Linked DNA regions of Homo sapiens: region 2 is linked to region 1. Evidence: promoter capture Hi-C in 16 types of primary human blood cells and fetal thymus (Javierre and others, 2016). All regions are on one chromosome and are shown on one strand. Each heading gives the region's core, a stretch centred on a gene start or on the middle of the fragment in contact. The rest is flanking DNA. Distances are from core to core; before and after follow the strand shown. Region 1 holds the start of LINC00677 (long intergenic non-protein coding RNA 677). Region 2 has its middle 64 kb from the start of EIF5.

Region 1 (5,334 bases), core at 2,004-4,503:
GAGCACCAACAACTGTGCTTCCTCCCTGGCCACGAGCATCTCACCATCTACAGCTCCCCTTCCAATACTTCACAGCCCCAGAAGCAAGGAAGAGGCTGGGGACGCCAAGCCCGCCACACAGAGGGGGACTTTCACTTTACTTGGGCAAATCCTTCCCTGCCAGCCCACCCTCTGGGCAGGAAGCAGGCAATGGACACCTCCCTGGATCCCACGGGACCCTAGGGAAGAGGCGGGGCATGGGCTCTGTCCCTTTGGACAGAGCAGGAACAGAGGTCCAGAAAGGTCTGGGACATGCCGGGGTCTAGAACACCAGAACCGGCCTGAGACTGGAACCCAGCCTCCTCCTGCCCAGACCCAGCCCCTCTGCCATCTTGTCCAGTTCTGATCCAGCGGTGGGGTCACAGAAACACAGCTGCTCCAGCTGGGCCATGAAAGGGGCAGAGCCTGACCAGGATCTACAGAAGCCACAGTGGGTGGGACCTCAGACAGCCTTTCACACATCACTGGGGCAAGGGGCTCAGCAAGTCACAGGGCGGCCTGAAGTCACACAGCAACTCGGGTCCAGAACCCAGGCTTCCTGGCTCCCACCCCCTCCCAAATGGGATCGTAGCATCATCACAAAGGCTTCCAGTTTCTGCAGCCTTCCTGGGTGCCCATCCCATCTCTTCCTTTCTCTCATCTGGAAGGGTGTTATTTCGGCTTAAACTGTCCCTATAGTCAATAGCTTGGGCTTGGAACTCAGGCCACCCGGTCCCAGAGCCCAGCTTTCCCCTGCCTCCACATCCCCAGCTATCCTGCAAGCTACATCCAGAGAGGCAAGACCCGAGCTTCCCCAGAGTCCCTGCCCAGCACCTGACCATTGTCAGAGCAAGGCCAGGTCCACTGGAGAAGAGCATGGCTGATCTGAAAGGGGGAAGCAGGCAGGGGCTGGGCCTCCCCAAGAACTGGGGTGACCTGTAACCTTGATGCCACCTGTCTGCCCCACCCCAAGACTAAATGCATGCAGCCTTGTCTCATGTATCATGGTAACTTCAAGTGACCCCTGAAACAGCCCTGCAAGGCAGGCAGGATGATCCACCATCCAGAAGGAGAAACTGAGGCTGAGTAGGAGGTGTTTGCCCCAAGCACAGCAGCCATGGAGGCTCAGACTGGGCCCATCCGACTCTTCCCATGGCCCCGCTGCCTCCACCAGCCCCACTACCCTGTCCCCATCCTGGAGGGGCTTGGCCAGAGCCACCTGAGGGACAGGAAGCCTGGGCTCCTCCCACCCCCAGCCCCTGCCATGCTCACCCAGTGCCCTGGGCAGAGTCCCACACTCCTGGATGGCACTGGCCTCCCTAGTGCCATTTGGGTTGAGCATTCCACTCCAGGACCAAGAGGGGCATGCTCCAGGGAGCCCCAGGGGCAAGGCCATGGGGCACCTCTGCTCCCCACCCGGTGCCCCAACTTCGCTTCCCAGCCCCTCTCAGGTGCATGCCTAGCACCCGCGGGAGCTGGTCTGTCTGGCAGGGCCACTCAGCCCCACCCTGGGTGCCCAGGCCCCACCTCTGCCATTCTCCTGGGGTGGGGGAGGGTGGCCCTTACCAGCAATGCTCCCTGCCAGCCTCACCTCAGCCTTCCCTGTCCCACCCCACATGTACTAGGCTCTGTCCCACCTCCAGGCACAGCTCCCGCAGGACCCCCACAGCATCACCGCCTTCTCCCCTCTGTGACACGAAACCCAGAGCGCCTGAAGGTCCTGCTGCAGCCCCCTGGGCCTCGCCCCAGGTCTCCGCTCTCCGAGGCAGCTGGTGCCATGGAAAGAGAAACGCTTTCGGTGTGGGCTCAGCACACTTCTCACTAGTGTGTGGACTGCACACCTCCTTCCTTCACAAGCCGCCGTTTCCCCGTCTTTGAAAAGGGGATGAGGACCCCCACCCCACAGTGCTGCTGAGGGGATGTGGCCAAACCGCACAGCCAAGTGCTGGGCGCCTAGCTGGGCCTCAGTGGGGGTGAGTCTCCTGTGTCCTGAGTCTGTCCTGCAGGCAGCAGCGAGCCGGTGCAGCCAGAAAGGAAGAAGGGGAGGAGGGGCGTTCCTTTGAGCCTTGCCGCTGGTTGGGCCCACTGAGGCAGGAAGGGGCCTGCTGGGAGGCTCGTAGAGGGGTCACAGCCAGTGGCTCAACAGCGCCCCCCAGCCTCCTGCTGCCCGGCCTCTCCTCAGGTCCACTGACCTGGCTCGCCTTCCCCGTCAGGGCTGATGTCCACACACCTCCCGGGAGCTCGCTGGGCCCGGCTCCTTCAGTCCTGGGCAGGATGTGGAAGGCGCACCCATCCCCCGATGAGGACACCCGGGCACGGGCGAGGAAGTGACTCGGCCTGTGTCGCCCGGCCGGGGAGTCACGCCGGACCTGGGGCCTTTCTGCTGTAATGGAGGGGAGACCCCTGCGCCTGCCCCAGCCCCGCCCTCCCTGCCTCTGGCAGGCCCGGGCCCTCAGCCAGCCTTGGCCCCTCTGCGCCCGGACGCGCGGACGCTGGGCGCGCCAGGGCCTCAGTTTCCCTGGAAGCGTCCAGCCCCCTCCTGTCCCCGCCGCGGCGACAGGCTCTTTCCTCGGGGAATCCGGCCTGGCCTCGGGGTAGGGGCGGGCGAGAAGCCGCGCGGAGCGGCGGGGAATGGACGTGTGGAAGCGGAGGTCACTTACCGTGTCCCGGCCTGGCCGCCACTGTCCTGGCCCGGGTTCCGCAAGGCCTGAAATAGTCGCAGAGTCAGCCCCGCCCCGCCCGCCCCTCCTTCCCCGCCCCGCCGCAACCGCGGAAAACCCGCGGGCGGAGGCCAAGGCCCAGCGCGGCCCGGCTGTGTCCCTGCGTCCCAGGGGCTGGGCGCGCCCGGCCTGCCCAGCGGGGGATGCGGGGCGCTGTCACTTCCTCCCAGCAGCCGGGCAGGGGCGGGGGGCTGGCCGCGCGTCGCATGGTATGTGGAGTTCGGGGGACGGCACGGGGACGACGGGGTTGTCAGGCGCGGAGCCATTGTCCGACGACGGCTCCTGATAGGCCGCCTGGATGGGGCGCGCTTGGCCGCGTTCCCGCGTCACACACCGGCTCCAGCTGCGGGAGAGCCCGTCCCACCCCAACTCCCCAGCCGCCCCTCTGAAGTGTTCCGGTGTCACCGTGGCCACAAGGAGGCAGGGGACGGGGGCTTCCTGAAGGAGGCCCCCTAAGGGGAAGGGGGCTACAAGGCTGGCCAGAGTGCTGGCCGCGCGGCTGTGCACAGGGCCTTGAGCCCCTCCGGTCGTCAAGCCTTGCTTGAAATGCGTAAATGCGGAAAGGTGAAGTGGCTGACCCGGCTCACACCACTTTAAGTAGCGGAGTGGGGTTCCTAGCCAGGCCTATGGGACTCCCACTGGAGCCTTTCCCCCTCTGGGGCTGGGGCTGGACCCACAGGCTGCCGGAGCAGGCAGAAGGGGAGGGGCCCAAGGCCCAGACTCCAGGGCCTCGTCTGGATCATCAACCCGGCTTTGCCCATTCAGCGCAGGCCTCCGTTTCCAGGCCTGTCTCCCCATCCACACCGTCTCTCAGGGTTTGTTTTGGGAGATGTGGGGGTGGGGCATGTGGGGAGGATGGAAAGGGGCTGTGAAGGGAACCCACTGGAGATTCACTTCCTTCCTTATTTCACACTCTAGGCTAGGAATTCCTGCCCTCTGGAAAGGACCCAGACATTTAGGAATTTCCCGCTGGGCAGGGGCTTCCCTCCTGCCTCACTGGGGCCTCTGCTCCTCCCCTCTTTTGTTTGGCCTCTTTCCCCGCCCCCTGATCACTCCGCCACCCCTTCTGCAGCCTAGTAACAGGTCTTCCAGGACCAGGGGGGCCAGCGGAGTGGGGGCGGCTGTGGGTTCAGGTGCCCTGGGAACTGAGAACTTCCTCTTCCAGAGTGCTGGCCAAGCGCCAGGTTTGCACTCGGATTGCCATCCATCATCCTGTCTCTGGGGAACCTGTGGGGGAGCGGATGCGGGAGGCCGCCAGGATGCAGGATGGGGCGTTAAGGCTGCCAACCCCACCCCTTCTCTCCTAGGACTCCAGGGATGACATTTTTCAGATGAGTCCACAGAGCCGCGGTGTCCCGGGGCTGGGAGGGTCCTTCCACCGGCACCGCGCAGATGGAGTTCATCCACACAGGGGCGATGAGGATACGGGCTGAGGGGCCCTGGCCGGTGGCTGCCTTCACGGCTGGCTGCTGTGGCCTCATTGTGCAATCCCCACAAGCCTCTCCTGCCAGACTCTGTTCCCCCACCCCACCCCCTCACCCCCCCTCCCATTCCCAAGCAGATCGGGAAATTGCTCGGGAAGTCTGCATCTGCCAGGAGGGCGTTGTCAGGCCTTAGGCCCCACTGTCCCCTCGAAGGCAGCCCCTGGTCTCCACGGGCTTTGCAGGGCTGAGGCGGGGCTGCCACCCTTGTCCCCCACTGACGGCAGTGGCCCGCCCAGAGCACCGGCTGGGGATTGGGAAACGAGGCTGCTGCCTTGGACTTGTGTCTGCACCAGTCACTTCCCCTCTCTAAGCTCAGGCATGAGGGTCAATGGTAACATACGTGAAGTCCTCAAGACAAGGAAAGTCTTCTGAAAATGGGGCAGCATGGAGGCCCAAGGGATGACAGCCAATGGGGCCCATAGGGCAGGAGCAGTCCTTACCCTCTTCTCGCAGATGCAGAAAGCAGTTCCCAAGAGGCCAGGCACTTCCAGAGGAGCCAAAGGCCAGCCTACGGCTCCTCCCCAGCAGGAAGCCAGCATCACATGCTGGGTGGCGATGTTTGTGACCAGTGGCCAGCGGCTGTCCCATTCCCCAGCTCCCCAGGGCACAGGCCAGGGGCAGTGAGCAGGGGGCTCTGCCTGGTGGGGAGGGCAGCAGACAGGAGCAGACTGGCAATGACCTCTCCATTTAGCCTAGAAGGCGAGTGTGCCAGCACCTGGCCAGGAGCCACGGTCAGCTCCTCGCACGCAACCCAGGGCCTCAGAGGCTACGACACATGGGATGTTCCCTCCCTTCTGTCTGCCAGAGCAATGACAGCTGACTGTTTAAAAATTATTATGGTACAATATACATAATGCAATTTATAATCTTTTAAGTGCACAGTTCAGTGGCATTAAGTATATTCACAGGGTCGTGCAACCAACAGCACCCTCCACCTGCAGAAATCGTCACCTGGCAAAACGGAAACTCTACCCACTATGCACTAACTCCTCTTTCCCTCTCCTCCGGGCCCTGGCAACCGCCATTCTACCTTTCGTCTCTGTGGTCTTGACTATTCTATGTACTGCAAATAAATAGAGTCACACAGCGTTTATCCTTTTGTGTCTGCATCT
Region 2 (6,186 bases), core at 849-3,348, 150 kb before region 1:
TTTTTTGAGACAGAGTCTCGCTCTGTCGCCCGGGCTGGAGTGCAGTGGCGCGATCTCAGCTCACTGCAAGCTCCGCCTCCCGGGTTCACGCCATTCTCCCGCCTCAGCCTCGCGAGTAGCTGGGACTACAGGCGCCCGCCACCACACCTGGCTATTTTGTTTTTGTATTTTTAGTAGAGACGGGGTTTCACCATGTTAGCCAGGATGGTCTCGATCTCCTGACCTTGTGATCTGCCTGCCTCGGCCTCCCAAAGTGCTGGGATTACAGGCGTGAGCCACCGCGCCCGGCCAAAAATTGCTTTTCTTAATCAGTGTCCGTCCTTGTATTTTTTAAACTGAAGCTAAGCGTTACTCACGTACATAGTGCCGTATAAGATGTAACCGAAAATGCGTACACTGACGCTTAAACAAGGGTTACTTGTGTATGTGGCTGCCTCGCACTGATTGACTATATCCGGATGGTCTTTCTCTCCTGATGGTGCTTTAATTCGTGGAGACCTTGTTTCTGGGTCTTCTCTGAGACCCCGAAGACTCTGGAGCCGGCACTCCTGTAGAGATGGGTGTTCTCTTTTGTGTATGATGTGACCCTTATACTTTTTTTTTTTTTTTGAGACAGAGTCTAGTTCTGTCGCCCAAGCTGGAGTGCAGTGGTGCGATCTGGGCTCCTTGCAACCTCTGCCTCCCCTCCCGGGTTCAAGCAATTATCCTGCCTCAGCCTCCCAAGTAGCTGGGACTACAGGCACGCGGCACCACGCCCGGCTAATTTTTGTATTTTTAGTAAAGACGGGGTTTCACCATACTGGCCAGGCTGGTCTTGAACTCCTGACCTCAGGTGATCCTCCTGCCTTGGCCTCCCAAAGTGCTGGGATTACAGGCGTGAGCCACTGTGCCTGGCAGTGACCTAAGCCTTAATGTTGTAAGAGTTACAGTTATGTTTGAAATAGATTTCAGGGCACTGAACTGAACAGTTTTTCACACGTTTTAGATTCATTTACAACCTAGAATTGCAGCTTTCTGGGTGGATTTGTTTTTTTTTTCATTTACATATATAAAATGCCTGACCTACTTGCTGAAATGTCCCTGTACTTTCAAAAGGTGTTGTTTTTTTTTTTTGTCAGAATGGAGCAAAATCAGCTTCTACAACTAACAGCATTATTTCCCCTGTAGTTTATTGAAGCAACATTTTTTCCCTGAACACCTGAATATTTTGACAATAATGCAAATGTTAAACAGAATGAAATTATGTAAAGAAAAGATGCTCTTTTTGTTTGCCTTTCTAGCTGTGTTTGTAAAACCTTGGGAATTGGCTGGGTGTGGTAGCTCAGGCCTGTAATCCCAGCACTTTGGGAGGCTGAGGTGGACGGATCACCTGAGTTCGGGAGTTCAAGACCAGCCTGGCCAACATGGAGAAACCCTGTCTCTACTAAAAATACAAAATTAGCCGGGCATGGTGGCACATGCCTGTAATCGCAGCTACTTGGGAGGCTGAGGCAAGAGAATCACTTGAACCCAGGAGGCGGAGGTTGTTGTGAGCCGAGATCGCGCCATTGCACTCCAGCCTGGGCAACAGGAGTGAAACTCCGTCTCAAAAACAAACAAACAAAACCTTGGGAAGGTTGCTGGTGTTTGGCTTTGGTGTGTGTGGGAAGTGTGTGTGTGTGGGGGGGGTTGTGTGTGTGGGGGGGGTGTGGGGGGGTGTGTGTGGGAGTGTGTGTGTGTGTGTGTGTGTGTGTGTCTGTATGTGAATTCCAGGCATTATTATTCTCTACAGCCCATGGACTCGCAGAGCTGAGACTTTAGTTCTGCCTTAGGCATTTGAACATTTTTCAAAATCAAATGTGAAAACTCAAAACTAACTTTTATCTGTATAAGCTTCCTAGCTTTGTCGAGGGAAAATGCTAGCCCGCGCAGTGGCTTGTGGAGGACCCTGGTATTCAGTTTATATTGTGTGTGATATTGTGGTAGAATAAAAGGTCCCCTCAAAATGAACAAAGAAACAAACACCAAAAAACCTTTCACTGCGCTGAGACCCGGCAAGACTTCAGTCCTCAACACTCCTTTCGGGGACTGGCTGTATGTCTTTTAGGCCTCAGGCAGTTCTTCAGTTTCCCCACAAGAATTTCAGTACTTTCAGTAACACCTGGAAAGCAGAACTGTCTCCCCAGATGGTGGCTGGGAAGAGGGTGTTCAGGCCCTGCGACCTGACACCCCCCAGGCAGAACACCCCCTTCATCTGTGGCAGAAATCCTTAACACTGAAGTTCAGGAAATGCCACCCCCAAATATGCCAGTTTGGGATATGGATTGGTTATAAAAGGAAGCTTTGAGTGGCACTTCCTTCTGTTTAGGATTTCAGGCAGCTCATAAAAACAAAGACCTCTATTTCCAGCTAGGCAATCAGGTGGGGGACAGGCATGGAGTAAAACTCTTGTCTCCAGTAACTCTGGGCTAAACTATTTCCCAATGAGAACAACTAACTGGATAAAATACATATTTTTAAAAATCTTAAAAATATTGAATTGCTGGGCCAGGCGCGGTGACTCACACCTGTAATCCCAGCACTTTGGGAGGCTGAGGCAGGCGGATCACGAGGTCTGGAGTTTGAGACCAGCCTGGCTGACATGGTGAAACCCCGTCTCTACTAAAAATACAAAAATTAGCCAGGGGTGGTGGCATGTGCCTGTAATCCCCGCTACTTGGGAGGTTGAGGCTGGAGAATCACTTGAACCCGGGAGGCGGAGGTTGCAGTGAGCCGAGATCACGCCACTGTACTCCAGCCTGGGTGACAGAGCGAGACTCTGTCTCAAAACAACCCCCCAAAACCCAAAGTACTCCCACAAGTAATTTTTTTTTCTAGTTTGGAAAGGATAGCTTTATTCCTCCTAAAGGGTTGCAGCCTGAAGGTGGCCGTTCTGACAGGCTGGGAAGCATAGCCTCTGGCTGGAAGCTAGAAACAGATATTTGGAGGGTAGGAATGGTAACACAGGGATTTATATTGACCAGGGTGGCCAAATATACATATTCAATAAGCTTTAGGAGGATCCATGAATATTTATGAGAGGAGAAATATGAACATACACAGTTGAGCTTCATGCCTCTCCATGGGACCCACGTTCAAAAAATGGTAGCCTTCACATGGTCCAAGGGTGGAGTTTTTGGGCCTCTGATGTCAAAAGGGGAAGCAGAGAAAACCCTCACTGTGCATCCTCCGTAGACTGGCCAGAACCACTCTGAGGTCGGTGGTCTCTTATCAGGAGGGGATGCTGGTTGGTAAGGTTGTATTGAAAATGCAAAAGGAAGCGGCAGCGTCAGAGTCTGGTTGATGTCGGGGTGGGGTCTGTGGACCGCAGTCCGCAGGGGAGAAAGCCTAAGGGCAGCTGGAGAGGGAAAGGGGAGCGTGTCTGACCTGCCCTCCCGTGTCTGACCTGCGTTCCCATCATGGCCTGGAACTCAGTTTTCAAGGTATCTCTGGGGTCCCCTTGGCCAAGAAGGGCTCAGTTCAGTTGGTTGGGGGCTTAGGATATAATTTTTATGTCTCTTTTCCTCACTTTGGTCAAGATTTTCCAGAGGCAGCATCAGTGGCTAAACTTTAATTTTGTCCCATATCGTTGCCAGGGTGGTGTGGCTCCCTGCCCCAGGTCCATCCAGGCCCTCGGCGGAACCCCATGGCCAAGGGTCTTACAGCCAAAAGACTTGCAGTCAATTAAACATTTTAGGCCAGATGGGAATGGAGGCAGCCAGACATTCATTAACCTGAAAAACTTTAAGCAATGTAAGAGCCAAAAACCAAAGCCAAAATGCAAGGTTACAAAATTGGCTTATCTGTAAGTTCTATACATTGAGCTACTGCAATCTTGGTTTTAGTTACATTTGTAGCAATTAGCTATATAAAACCTAAGCAATTAGCTATATAAAACCTAAGCATTTTGCTAAAACCATTTAAAGTAAGGAATCTGGAGACTTTAGTTGGGCTGCAAAGCTTTTATTTATTCATTGTTTGAGACAGGGTCTCATTTTGTCACCCAGGCTGGAGTGCAGTGGTGCAAACTCGGCTCACTGCAGTCTCAATCTCTCGGGCTCAGGTGATCCTCCACCTCAGCCTCCCAAGTAGTAGGGACTACAGGCATGTGCCACCACACTCGGCTAATTTTTTTTTTCTTTCTTGAGACAGATTCTTGCTCTGTCGCCAGGCTGGCGTGCAGTGGCACGATCTCGGCTCACTGCAACCTCCACCTCCCGGGTTCAAGCAATTCTCCTGCCTCAGCCTCCCGATTAGCTGGGACTACAAGCACATGCCCAGCTAATTTTTTCTATTTTTAGTAGAGATGGGGTTTCACCATGATGGCCAAGATGGCCTTGATCTCCTGACCTCGGGATCCACCCGCCGTGGCCTCCCGAAGTGCTGGGATTACAGGGGTGAGCCACCGCTCCTGGCCCTAATTTTTAAATTTTTTTGTAGAGAGGGGATGTTGCTGCCATGTTGCCCAGGCTGGTCTTGAACTCCTGGGTTCAAGCTATCCATCTGCCTCGGCCTCCCGAAGTGCTGGGATTACAGGTGTGAGCCAGCGCCTCCACAAAGCTTTCTGTGGTCTCTTTAGTACTTTTTCTGAAGTGATGCTAATTGTTGTTGGTCATATCTCTATTGCGTAAACCCCGTAGCTGGAAGCAGCTACACCCAGAAGGCTCTGTCATTGCATATCTTGATATTCTCTTCGTAATTCTCCTTTAATTCTACAGGAATCGGGAATTTTCCGTGATTGGGATGGATGGAAAAGCACCCAACTGCTACATGCTGCCTGATGGCTCCAGGGTTGGCCCACCATCACTTCTGCCACCATTGTTGCCACACACACTGCCCAGGAGCCCACCTGCCCTGCCTACTGGTGGCGCCTGAGCAAGCTGGAGGCCCAAGGACTGGCCTATCTGGACTCACCACCATTAGCACCTGCATATGCCACCCAGGGGCCTGCAAATCAGCACACCTGGCTCCCCATTGCCACCACAGCTGTGGGGGCTGCATCCTGCAGAGCCACAGGGCAGAGCCCACCCCTTGAGCCAATGTGGCCTGGATACGAGACACAGGGTTGAAGGAGATTATTTTGGAGCTTTAAGATTTAATGACTGCCCTGCTGGGTTTCAAACTTGCATGGGGCCTGTAGCCCCTTTGTTTTGGCCAGTTTGCCTTTTTGGATTGGTAGTATTTAGTCAATGTTTGTACCCCCATTGTATCTTGGAAGTAACTAATTTGTTTTTGATTTTACAGGCTCATAGGTGGAAGGGACTGGCCTTGTCTCAGATGAGACTTTGGACTGTGGACTTTTGAGTTAATGCCGAAATGAGTTAAGACGTGAGGGACTGTTGAGAAGGGATGATTGTATTTTGCAGTGTGAGAAGGATATGAGATTTGGGAGGGGCTGGGGCAGAATGGAATGGTTTGGATTTGTGTCCCCAGCCACATCTCATGTTAAATTGTAGGAGGGGTCTGGACAGAGGTGATTGGATCAAGGGGGCGGATTTCCCCCTTGCTGTTCTCGTGATAGTGACTGAGTTCTCACAAGATCTGGTTGTTTAAAAGTGTGTGGCACCTCCCCCTTCACCCTCTTCCTCCCGCTCCAGCCTCAAAGGATGTGCCGGCTTCCCCTTCACCTTCCACCATGATGGAAGGTCTCCCGAGGCCTAGCCAGCCGTGCTTCCTGGACAGCCTGTGGGAACGTGAGCCGATTAAGCCTCTTTATAAATTACCCAGTCTCAGGCAGTTCTTTATGGCAATGTGAGAACAGACTACAATACCAACCAACATTATCGGTGTATCTACAGGAAAATGTCTTTCCCTACAAAAGCCAATCCATAAAATTAGAAGAAATGACTGTTACACCAGATGCGCAGATATCAACACAAGGACACAAGAAACACACACACACAAAGGAAACGTGACGCCTCCAAAGGAACACAATATTTCTCCAGGAACAGATCCTAAAGAAATGATGAAATGCTCAAAAAAATTCAAAATAAGTTTAAAAACTCAGTGAGATACAAGACAGCAAAGATAAACAATACAGAGAAATCAGGGGCCGGGGGAGTGGCTCAAGCCTGTAATCCCAGTACTTTGGGAGGCTGAGGCGGGTGGATCACTGGAGGTCAAGAGTTCGAGACCAGCCTGGCGAATGTGGCGAAACCTCATCTCTAC

The links. Contacts are between HindIII fragments. The CHiCAGO score rates a contact against its expected background, and 5 or more counts as called.
Region 2: a contact is called between a fragment that was not itself captured here and the fragment with the promoter of LINC00677 in region 1, in 1 of 17 cell types (M1 macrophages). The highest score is 5.8, in M1 macrophages.

The regions. Positions count from the first base shown.
Region 1 is chr14:103,120,828-103,126,161 of GRCh38, reverse strand. It overlaps LINC00677 (long intergenic non-protein coding RNA 677), which reads left to right and starts at 3,253. Exons shown (of 2, transcript NR_138038.1): 1 at 3,253-3,553; 2 at 5,131-5,313. It overlaps TNFAIP2 (TNF alpha induced protein 2), which reads right to left and starts at 2,701. Exons shown (of 12, transcript NM_006291.4): 1 at 2,211-2,701. RefSeq lists silencers at 2,410-2,459, 2,760-3,039 and enhancers at 2,704-3,237, 3,238-3,770. The HindIII fragment of the contact is 18,340 bases long and covers 1-5,334 here.
Region 2 is chr14:103,266,899-103,273,084 of GRCh38, reverse strand. No RefSeq gene overlaps it. Among named protein-coding and RNA genes, the nearest start is that of EIF5, 64 kb to the left of the region's middle. The HindIII fragment of the contact is 448 bases long and covers 1,875-2,322 here.